Regions from separate parts of the Homo sapiens genome. Here all the other regions are linked to region 1. The links are contacts of gene promoters, found by promoter capture Hi-C in blood cells and fetal thymus (Javierre and others, 2016). All regions are on one chromosome and are shown on one strand. The core of a region is centred on a gene start or on the middle of the fragment in contact, and the rest is flanking DNA. Distances in the headings are between cores, read along the strand shown. Region 1 holds the start of NUP214 (nucleoporin 214). Region 2 overlaps PRRC2B (proline rich coiled-coil 2B). Region 3 overlaps PRRC2B (proline rich coiled-coil 2B).

Evidence for each region. Contacts are between HindIII fragments. The CHiCAGO score rates a contact against its expected background, and 5 or more counts as called.
Region 2: a fragment that was not itself captured here is called in contact with the fragment with the promoter of NUP214 in region 1 in 1 of 17 cell types (erythroblasts); the score reaches 5.3 in erythroblasts.
Region 3: a contact is called between a fragment that was not itself captured here and the fragment with the promoter of NUP214 in region 1, in 1 of 17 cell types (erythroblasts). The highest score is 5.3, in erythroblasts.

Annotation. Positions count from the first base shown.
Region 1 is chr9:131,123,445-131,127,351 of GRCh38, reverse strand. NUP214 (nucleoporin 214) reads right to left here and starts at 1,766. Exons shown (of 36, transcript NM_005085.4): 1 at 1,603-1,766. The coding sequence starts at 1,647. It also overlaps the pseudogene RNU6-881P. RefSeq lists an enhancer at 1,568-1,867. The HindIII fragment of the contact is 3,004 bases long and covers 1-1,798 here.
Region 2 is chr9:131,456,183-131,460,089 of GRCh38, reverse strand. It overlaps PRRC2B (proline rich coiled-coil 2B), which reads right to left. Exons shown (of 32, transcript NM_013318.4): 11 at 734-926. Among named protein-coding and RNA genes, the nearest start is that of SNORD62A, 28 kb to the left of the region's middle. The HindIII fragment of the contact is 1,681 bases long and covers 1,200-2,880 here.
Region 3 is chr9:131,401,650-131,405,556 of GRCh38, reverse strand. The region is part of intron 1 of PRRC2B (proline rich coiled-coil 2B); the gene reads right to left. Among named protein-coding and RNA genes, the nearest start is that of PRRC2B, 9.5 kb to the right of the region's middle. RefSeq lists an enhancer at 3,299-3,907. The HindIII fragment of the contact is 276 bases long and covers 1,567-1,842 here.

The sequences.
Region 1 (3,907 bases), core at 517-3,016:
GAGTGCAGTGCAGCGATCTTGGCTCACTGCAACCTCTGCCTCCCAGGTTCAAGCGATTCTCCTGCTTCAGACTCCCAAGTAGCTGGGATTACAGGCACCCGCCACCATGGCCATCTAATTTTTGTATTTTTAGTAGACACAGGGTTTCATTATGTTGGCCAGGCTAGTCTCGAACTCCGGACCTCAAGTGATCCATCCACCTCAGCCTCCCAAAGTGCAAGCTCACAGGCATGAGCCACCACACTCGGCCCTCATTTTTTTCTGATATGGAACACTTCATGAATTTGTCTGTCATCCATGTAAAGGGGCCATAATAGTCTTCTCTGCATGATCCCAATTTTATATGTGCTGCCAAAGGGAGTGCGAGATTACCATCTTCTAAGTCTGTGGTTCTATTAATAAAACCTTTTTTTCTTCTACCCCAGCATATCTGAGGAATATGACACAACCCCATTAGGTGGCTCACCACAGGTGGTGATTCTCAAAAAATAATCACTATTCTAGGACAGCACGGTAGCTCACGCCTATAATCCCAGCACTTTGGGAGCCAGAGGAGGGCGGATCACGTTAGGTCAGGAGTTCGAGACCAGCCTGGCCAACATCGTGAAACCCAGTCTCTACCAAATGATATAAAAAATTAGTGGGGCGTGGTGGCAGGCGCCTGTAATACCAGCTACTAGGGAGGTTGAAGCAGGAGAATCGCTTGAGCCGGGGAGGTGGAGGTTGCAGGGAGCCGAGATCATGCCACTGCACTCCAGCTTGGGTGACAGAGCAAGACTCTGTCTCAAAAAAAAAAAAAAATCACTATTCTAAACATGGTATTACTATGCCCTAAATGCATTTTAGTGATTTATTGTTCACACAGATGCCTAAAATCTTCCTGCAACTTACTTCTTTTCACTATTTAAAACAGATGTAGCCCGTCTGTTGTACCCTCATTCTGTCAGAACCCATATAAGAACTATTAAACACACCATCCTGAAGTTATCCCTGGGGGACTCCCACGTTGCTATCACTGGGACCACTTGGCCCTCCCTTTAGGTTCCTGACTTTAGGCTGATATACCGAGGTCAAAATAGTCTTCCTAGTCCAATCAACTAAAGGTTCTGCAGGATGGATGACCTTCCCTGACTCTACGTTAGGCAAGCCCGTATCACCTTACAGAAGTACTGGGAGAGCAAAGGTCTTAAATGATGCTGGCTTTCAGCCCCGCGTCAAATGTGACTTTAGGGAAATTACTTTCCGAGCCTCAACTTACTCCTCTACGTTAACGACTACTTCGTAGGGCTGCCGCGATGACTACCACAGTGCCTGGCACACAGTCAACACTCAATAAACAGCAGTTATTGCCACTATTGTGACCGCCCCAGGAAGTAGCTAGGGTAACTCAACAGCCGTGCACGAGACCAGGATGGGACTGGGAAACTGCATTCGGTGGGGCTATCACGCCAGCGGCGCGGCAGACGCGCTGGTGAGAGCTGTGAACGCGGTAAACTGTTCAAGCAGGAGGCGGGACAGCCAGCACCGCGCTTCGCCTTTCAGCTGGGCTCCAAGGCAACGCCAGGACTAAAGAAGGGAGGGAGGCCCCGGTTAGTCTCTGACCTTCATCTCCCGCTCGGGAATCATGGCATCCATCTCGTCTCCCATCGCGCCGCCCTCAGTGTGTCGAAGCAGCCAACGCTGCCTCCCACGGCCTTGCCCACGGAACCCAGGCCGCTCGACAGCAAACTTCCTCCCCTCAGCGCCAGCGGCGCGCAGTTGACCTCGCATTTCCGGCGCGCTTTGGTGACGTCAAGCTTGGTCAGAGGAAGCCGCGGAACCTAGCGAAGCCGCGCGTTCTTCCGGCCGCCGCTCCCCATTGGCCAGCTCGGGCTGAGTAGTGGCGTGGCCGTGAGGTCCCTGCGCCTGCGCCCTGGATGGTCCTGGTGCCGCTCCCGCCTTCGCAGCCAGCGCGGGCTTACCTAGTGTTAAGTCTCTCTTCTTGGGTGGCCCACGCCTAAGCGACCTATGCTTCTTGTTCTTCTGAAATCTTACAGTTCCCCTTAGATGTAGGTTGGCTATTGGTAGCTTCCGATTCAGATAAGTTTGGAACTTGACAGATGTTTTCGGGGGGCTGCTTTAGAGAGAGGCTTTGGACTATGCAAGGGGAGGAAGGGAGGTTCAGAAAAACGGGGTCGGGGGGTCGGCAGGGACGACTCTTAAAGTGTGGAAGGTGGAAGGCTGGGAGGGGAGATTAAAGGGCACCGAAGACCAGCTTTGTTTGCTCCTATCAAGGTGATCCTTTCCAGAGCAAGAGCCATATCCATGTCTAGTCGCACGAGTTTGTGCCAAGTCCTTTGCAAAAACCTTCAGATGTGGGATCTCATGTAATCTTGAAGACATCTTAGTCGTCCTAGGGGTTATTTATTTAATTGATGAGACGCGGGTGGCTCATGCCTATAATCCCAGCACTTGGGAGGCGGAGACAGGAGGATTGCTTGAGACCAGGAGTTTGAGACCAGCCTCGGCAACATGGCGAGACCCCGTCTCTATAAAAAACAAAACAAAACCACAAAAATTAGCCAGCAGTGATGGCATGCGTATGTAGTCTCAGCTACTCGGGAGGCTGAGGTGGGAGAATTGCCTGAGCCCAGGAGGTTGAGGCTACAGGGAGCTGTGATTGCACCATTGCACTCCAGCCTGGGTGACAGAGCCAGGCCCTGTCTCAAAAAGTAAATAAAAGGCCGGGCGCGGTGGCTCACGCCTGTAATCCCAGCACTTTGCGAGGCCGAGGCGGGCGGATCACGAGGTCAGGAGATGGAGACCATCCTGGCTAACACGGTGAAACCCCGACTCTACTAAAAATACAAAAAATTAGCCGGGCGCGGTGGCGGGCACCTGTAGTCCCAGCTACTCGGGAGGCTGAGGCAGGAGAATGGCGTGAACCCGGGAGGCGGAGGTTGCAGTGAGCAGAGACAGCGCCACTGCAGTCTGGCCTGGGCGAAAGAGCGAGACTCCGTCTCAAAAAAAAAAAAAAAAAAAAAGTAAATAAAAATAGGCTGGGAGCAGTGGCTCACGCCTGTAACCACAGTACTTTGGGAGGCCGAGGTGGGTGGAACACCTGAGGTCAGGAGCTCGAGACCAGCCTGGCCAACATGGTGAAACCCCGTCTCTGCTAAAAATACAACAATTAGCCGGGTGTGGTGGCGGACGCCTGTGTTCCCAGCTATACAGGAGGCTGAGGCAGGAGAATCGCATGAACACAAAAGGTGGAGGTTGCAGTGAGCTAAGATTGTGCCACTGCACTCCAGCCTGGGTGACAGAGTGAGACTCTGTCTCAGAAAAAAAAAAAAAAAAAAAAAAAAATATATATATATATATATATATACACACACACACACACATATATATATACACACACACACATATATATATATATACACACACACACATACACATACATAATAATAATTGATGAGGTAAGGGAGGCACAGAGAAGTTGAGAAAATTCTCCAATAGCCCTCAGTCAGAAAGTGGTGGTGACAGGATTAGAATTGAGATCGTCTGGATAAGGCTGACTGATGGTATTAAAGTCCTTCATAGAATACATTTCTGTAGTGAATTATAAATGCTCTAGGACAGAGGTTCTTTTTTTTTTTTGAGACGGAGTCTCACTCTGTCACTCATGCTGGAGTGCAGTGGCGCGATCTCGGCTCACTGCAAGCTCTGCCTCCCGGGTTCACAGCATTCTCCTGCCTCAGCTTCCCAAGTAGCTGGGACTACAGGCGGCCGCCACCACGCCCGGCTAATTTTTTGTATTTTTAGTAGAGACGGGGTTTCACCGTGTTAGCCAGGATGGTCTCCATCTCCTGACCTCGTGATCCGCCCACCTCAGCCTCCCAAAGTGCTGGGATTACAGGCGTGAGCC
Region 2 (3,907 bases), core at 791-3,290, 330 kb before region 1:
TGTCAACTTACTGTTCAATCAGTTTAGAAAAAATATTGTTTGTAATGTACTTCCAACTTTTCTATCACTTTGAAGCTGTTTTAATTATTTCTTTGGCTTTTTTTTTTTTTTTTTTTTTTGGAGATAGGGTTTCACTGTGTTGGCCAGGATGGTCTTGAACTCCTGGTCTCAAGCAATCCCCCTGCCTCAGCCTTGCAAACTGTGTGAGCCACCATGCCTGGCTGTTTTAATTTTTTTTAACTATAACAAGAAGACAAATACAGTGCCTCATGCCTATAATCTCAGCACTTTGGGAGGCTGAGGTAGGAGGATCCCTTGAGCCCACGAGCTCAAGACTAGCCTGGGCAACATAGTAAGACCTCGTCTCTACAAAAAATGAATGAAATGAGCCAGGTGTGGCAGCACACAGGTAGTCCCAGCTACTCAGGAGGCTGAGGTGGGAGGATCGCTTGAGGGTGGGAGGTGAAGGATAGAGCAAGACCTTATCTTAAAAAAAGTAAGAACAGCCGGGCATGGTGGCTCACACCTGTAATCCTAGCACTTTGGCATCACTTGAGCTGGAGTTTGAGACAAGCCTGGGCAACATAGTGAGACCCTGTCTCTATGAAAAAACATTTTAACAAAAGAAGAAATATAAAAATGAAAAAGAAATGCCCACTTAGGACTTCTCAGAAACCCAGCCACCCAACTCAATGAAGTACAAATACACAGGACAGCCAAGGGCCCTTGGTACCTGGTAGTCAGGGCCTGGTGCCCAGCCATGAAGCTTCCTGGGCGGTGGCTGAGGGTCTGGCGCCTTTCGGACCACACGGGACGCACCCACTGCTTCAGCCCAGTCCTTCCCTTCCTCTCGAGTCCGCTTAGCGTCCGCACTGTCTGCAGAGCTCATTGACAACTGCCGCTGCCTCCTAGGGTCCCAACTGTTCCTAGGACAAACCACATTTGATGTTAAGTTTTTGCACTCAGGCCAAGCATTTCTGATCTCACTGGTCAGAGGCCTTGAGAATTCCCAAGTCAGCTGTCCAAATCATTTTCTTCATTAGAATGGACCACCACTCCCACTACTTCCATGTGAATTCCACGGTTCAGCCCCACCATTTATCAAGTCACTCTCATTAAACAGAGCCCCAGGCACGATATGTCACACTATTTCACCGATGCAAAAAAAAGTCCTCATGATCCTCACTTTAAAGCAAGCTTGTCCAACCACATGTGGCCCAGGATGGCCCTGGGCTCTGGATGCAGCGCAACACAAATTCGTAAACTTTCTTAAAACATTATAAGAGGGCCTGGGCGTAGTGGCTCACGCCTGTAATCCTAGCACTTTGGGAGGCTGAGGCGGGCTGATCATTTGAGGTCAGGAGTTCCAGATCAGCCAGGCCAACATGGTGAAACCAAGTCTCTACTAAAAATACAAAAATTAGCCAGGTGTGGTAGCAGGCACCTGTAATCTCAGCTACTAGAGGCTGAGGTGGGAGAAGTGCTTGAACCCCAGAGGTGAAGGTTGCAGTGAGCCAAAATCGCGGCACTACACTCCAGCCTGGGCAACAAACAGAGAGAGACTCCGTCTCAGAAAAAAAAAAAAATAAAAACACATTATGAGGTATTTTTTCGTAACTTTTTCATTTTAGCTTATCAGCTATCGTTAGTGTTAGTGTATTTTATGTGTGGCTCAAGACAACTCTTCCAGTGTGGCCCAGGGAAGCCAAAAGATTGGACACTCTTGATTTAAAAAGTCAGTAGCTGAGTCTCATCAAGGTTAACGGGGCACCCCTCACAGGGAGGAGCTCACAGATTTGAACCAGGACTCCCAGGTGCGTGTCCGTCTCCTTTTGGTACATCTCCCTCCCTATGCTCTGCACAAGCCAGTTGCTCAATAAATGCCCCTCAAAAGAACAAAAGATGACTACTAAACAGTGCCACAATAAAAAGAGCAAGAGGAGACAAGCAGAGCCGACACAGCATGGAAAAGGAGGAGGTGTTCCAAACAGAGCTGCAGGGGTGGCTGGACAAGAAGGGGATGGGTGCCATGCTCGTCTGGACGCCTCACAATGGAAGCAATGGTGCTGGGGCAAAGCATTTGCAAGGGCCCGGTAATACTGCAGATCAGAGAAAAGCGGGAATCAGGGATGGCAGATGTGTGGGCCTGTGTGTCTACCCACACACGTACGTGGCGAGGGAGGGAAGACGAGGCAGGTAACATAGCTTAGGAGATTACAGAGGGGAAAATTACAGAGGGGACAACAATTACAGAGGGGACAACGGTGATTCCTATCTGACTTTGTCAGAAATGGAGACCACAGTAAAGCTGCTGACCTGTCTAAAAGACCTGTGTTTTTAGAAGATGACTATGGGCAGGGTGTCAAGGACGGGCCATGGAGGACAGGCTGAAAGGATGGAGATGAACTGGTGGACCCATGGATGGTCTGGAAAAGGAGGAGGTCCCAGTGGCCCCAGAGAAAATGAAAAGAGGAGACAGAGTCAGGGCAAGTTTTGGGAGCCAATTGTGTATGAGGAAATAAAGATGCCAAATAAGACATGGATGCATGCACTAAGTCTCTACCAGGTCACCAACCAGCTCAGAGAACATGAAGAAAAAGAGCAGGTTTCAGGAGGAGATCGTTCGGGCACTCTGATTTTGAAGTGCCCTTGGTCAAAGTCAGGGGCAAAACTGTCTCCAAAACCAATGTCCAGTTCCTTCAGGGGAATATGCAGTTCCCATCGCCTCAAAGAGACAAGGAACACAGAGTGTCCTACTGCTCCAATCAGTCTCTAAGAGTTTATGTCTTTGCCTTTGATTTTAATTCTTGATCACAGCTCCTTCTGAGCTTAGTGTTCCAGGAACTGACCCATAGGTATGTCCCGACTGCATCCAAAGCTTCAGCTGAAATCAAACAGCATGAAAGGAAATTACAGAATTTCATTTTTTGTGTGTCATCAGAAAAAGAGTAGCAAAGATTATTACCAACTCTTTCCAGAAGATGGGCACTTACTTTAGGAAGCTTTTAAGTAAAGGATGAAATAACAAAGAAAAAGATGACTCACAGATTTGACTAAACAAATATTCAGTTATTGACAAGAAAACAGAGAAAAATATTTGCAAGACCAACAGCAAAGCATTAACATCTAAACAATATAAAACATTACATTTTAACGGAAAGCAGTGATAAATGTGAAGGAAACAGGCATTATACAAAGGAAGCAAAGGAAAAAGTCTTACTTGCTAGTACTCAAAAAATACAAATTATGACAACCATAGGTATGATTGTTATTATTAATTTTTTGAGACAGGGCCTTACTCTGTCACTCAGGCTGGAGTGCAGTGGTGCAATCATGGCTCACTGCAGCCTCGACCTTCTGGATTCCAGTAGTCCTCCCACCTCAGCCTCCTGAGTAGCTAGGACTACAGGTGCACACCACGCCCAACTAATTGTGGGGTATTTTTTTTTTTTGAGGTGGAGTCTCGCTCTGTTGCCCGGGCTGGAGTGCAGTGGCATGTGGCGTGATCTCGGCTCACTGCAAGCTCCGCCTCCCGGGTTCATGCCATTCTCCTGCCTCAGCCTCCCGAGTAGCTGGGACTACAGGCACCTACCACCATGCCCAGCTAGTTTTTTGTATTTTTAGTAGAGACGGGGTTTCACTGTGTTAGCCAGGATGGTCTCGATCTCCTGACCTCGTGATCCGCCCGCCTTGGCCTCCCAAAGTGCTAGGATTACAGGCGTGAGCCACCGTGCCTGGCCATTGTGGGGTATTATTTTAAAAGTGCTACTAACATTATAAAAACTAGAGGGATGAGAGTACAATGCAGTATTTTCTAAAGGAAATTAAACAAAACTAAACTAGTCCAAGGAAATGATCCAAAAAAAAAAAAAAAAAAAGAGACAAAATTAACATGGTCAAATAAATT
Region 3 (3,907 bases), core at 455-2,954, 280 kb before region 1:
GGGGGCAGGAGGGGTGGCAAGTGACGCCAAGAGGTTGAGTCGAGAAGTGAGATATGCACAACAGCCACTATCAGGAGCTGCAAAAGCGCCAACAGCAATGAATATTAACAGCAACAAAACCACCAAGGACTGTGAAAGACGGGGCTATGAGAAAACTTAAAATGGAGGCCGTCTCTGAATTTTATGCACCAGGCTCCAGTGTATAACAGTTGGAAGAAAACAGGCAGCAAGGACAATCATTTTACTTGATACAGAAAATCAACCTTAGACCTGGCTGTGTCTATCGCCTCCTTCCAGCTCCCACAGTGGCCTTCACCTAACAAGACACCCAGAGCAACTCCTCCAGTGGCCGCTTCTGCACTGTGAACGGAGCTGCTGTGTCTGATCGCTGTCTGCCCAAGCTCACCAAAACATCAGACCCTACGCTCACCACAGAAAGCCGCAAACAGTAGCTTTTGATTGGAAAATGTGCACACCCAAAACAATCCAAAAAGCCTGTTCATTTAGAAAAGCCCATAGTCCAGAAACATACGCTCACACATATAAGCTGATACAAAGTTTTCTGAAGAGAAATCTGGCAGAATTCTTACCAAAAAGCTATTCAGTTGAAGAGTCCACACTGCAGAACCACATTCTCACACTTACATGCTTACATACAAATTGTATGTTTTTGAAAACAAATCTGGTACAGTTTGACCAAAATTGTGTAATATTCCAAAACTACAAATAGCCCAAATGTCCACCAGTAGGAGACAGAGGTTAAATCAAGTATACCCACAAAATATTCTCTGCAGTTGCTAAAATAGATAACATAATCCGTCTGCGTAGCTGTCAGGGAGCACGCTGAGACATTTTATCACGTGAAAGGGCAGCAGCATGCTTGAAGAATACAAACGTGCATGTGGATAATGTGGGTTTTTTTCTGGGAGGAATCCCAAGAACTTCCTCACACTGGTTTTTTTTTCAGAGAGAGTGGGGAAGAGCCTTTATACCTCCCTGAGCAACTTGAATTTTCTTTTTAAAAAGTCAACTGGGGGCCGGGTGCAGTGGCTCACGCCTGTAATCCCAGCACTTTGGGAGGCTGAGGCGGGTGGCTCGCCTGAGGTCAAGAGTTCGAGACCAGCCTGGCCAACATAGTGAAATCTCGTCTTTATTAAAAATACAAAAAAATCAACTAGGCATGGTGGCGGATGCCTGTAATCCCAGCTACTAGGGAGGCTGAGGCAGAAGAATTGCTTGAACCCAGGAGGCGGAGGTTGCAGTGAGCCAAGATCACGCCATTGCCTTCCTGGGCAACAAGCAAAACTCTGTCCCCACCACCAAAAAAAAAAAAAAAAAAAGTCAACTGGGAATATCTAAACCATGGGATTATAAACGATTTTTTCTTCTTTTACACACCTGTATATTTTTTAGAAACCTAACATTATTTTTAAAACACTTAGTGTGGCAGGTCTGTTCACATGAATATGGAAAAATGGCTGGGTGTGGTGGCTTACACCTGTAATCCTAGCACTTTCAGAGGCCAAGATGGGAAGACAGCTTGAGGCCAGGAGTTCAAGACAAGCTTGGTCAACATAGCGAGACCCACCCCCACATCCCTAAGGAAGAAAAAAAAAGTATTACTGAAAATAAAAATAAGAGAAGTTACGCTTAAAAATACGTATGGAAAAATACTGTGATATTTTGAAAATGCCAAGTTGCAATACAATATAGTATATCCCATTTTTGTTTTTTAAAAAACCTCCCTACATGAGGCCATATTTATACGTGCACTGAGCCTAGAAGGATAAACAAAGCAAATTTATCAATAATGGTTACTGCCTGGGACATTGGGGAAAAGCTTTCATTTCTCTTCAAACACTTGGCTTTTAATTTTGTTTTTTTTTTTTTTTTTAAAGTATGGGCCAGGCGCAGTGGCTCACGCCTGTAATTCTAGCATTTTGGGAGGCTGAGGTGGACAGATGGCCTGAGCTCAGGAGTTTGCGACCAGCCTGGGCAACAAGGCGAAACCCCATCTCTACTAAAATACAAAAAAAAATTAGCCAGGCGTGGCGGGATGCACCTGTACTCCCAGCTACTCAAGAGGCTGAGGCAGGGGAATTGCTTGAACCTGGGAGGTGGAGGTTGCAGTGAGCCGAGATCATGCCACTGCACTCCGGCCTGGGCAACAGAGCAAGACTCCACCTCAAAAAAAAATAAATAAATAAATAAAATAACCTGTATACTTCTGCAATTAACATTTTACCAAAAACAAACAAACAAACAAAAAACCAGAAAATACCACATTATGATTCAGGACACTATCCTCTTCCCAAGGACTTCTGAACACTTGGCCCATTCAGTCCACCGACAGGTCGGTTGGGCAGGCAGGCAGGAGTGATGATGCCCCTCCCAGACAGGCCTGTGCTTTCTGCCCTGGCCTGGAACACAGCTGTTCTTTAAGCTCTGAACCATATGTAAACAACACCTGCCGAAAAAAGTTCTGCAAGACACAAAGGACCCATGGAAAGAGTCCTGGAGATGACCTCCTTTTTCCAGTAGGTCCTGCAGCGATCCATCCCATGGTTCTATACAAAGAGATGATCCTGAAGCGTGTCGGGAAGTTGACGCCGGCTTCCCGGAGGCACAGTCATTCTCTGCCCTCCTCCCTGCTGGCCACTGGCCATACAAGAATGCTTGCATAATGTTCACCATTCAAAGGGCCTCGGCACTCTCTGGAAAGCAGGCTGACCCACAAGTTCTCTTCTGGGACCCATACATTTCTGATTTCCACATAGGAACACATTTTTAATGTTCCAGGGCTCAGCACACTATTTTCAATAGGTGCTTATTTCGAGTCAGCTACATTTTCCAGAATGCCTTCCCTGACTGCCCCACACCCAGACTGAGGTGAGCTTGGTTTCTGCGTGGGCTCCTATAAGACCCCCTTCTCAGACACCTGGCACACAGTGATGAATGGGAAACAACAGAATTCTGCTTCCGGATGCATTTACTCACTCCACTGGGGGAAAGGACCATTCAATACATGAAAACAAAACTATCTACAGGCTGCTGCCCGTCGCTGAATGAATAAATAAAATGTGGTAGATACATGCAAATAAGAGAATATTATTCTGCCTTAAGAATGAAGTTAGTTCTGACACATGCTGCAACATGGATGAACCTTGGAAATACTATGCTAAAAATAAGCCAGACACAAAATGACAAATACTGGATGATCTCACTTACATGAGGTACTTAAGAGTATTCGGTTTCACAGAAAGAAAGTAAAATGGTTGGCAGGGCAAGGTGGCTCAACATTGCCACCATGGGATTACACATGGCTGTAATTCCAGCACTCTGGGAAGCCGAGGCAGGCAAATCGCTTGAGCTCAGGAGTTCGAGACCAGCCTGGCCAACATGGCGAAACTCCGTTTCTCCTAAAAATACAAAAATTAGCCAGACCTGTAATCCCAGCTATTCAGGAGGCTGAGGCAGGAGAATCGCTTGAACCCGGGAGGTAGAGGTGCAGTGAGCCGAGATCGTGCCATTGCACTCCAGCCTGGGAGACATAACGAGACTCTGTCTCAAAAATAATAACAATAATACAAAAATTAGACCAAGCACAGTGGCTCACGCCTGTAATCCCAGCACTTTGGGAAGTCGAGGTGGGCAGATCACCTGAAGTCAGGGGTTCGAGACCAGCCTGGCCAACATGGTGAAACCCCGTCTCCACTAAAAATACAAAAATTAGCTGGGCATGGTGGCAGGCGCTTGTAATCCCAGCTACTCGGGAGGCTGAGGCAGGAGAATCTCTTAAACCCAGGAAGCAGAGGCTGCAGTGAGCCGAGATCGCGCCATTGCACTCCAGCCTGGGCAACATCAAAACTCTGTCTCAATAAAATAAAATAAAATATACAAAAACTAG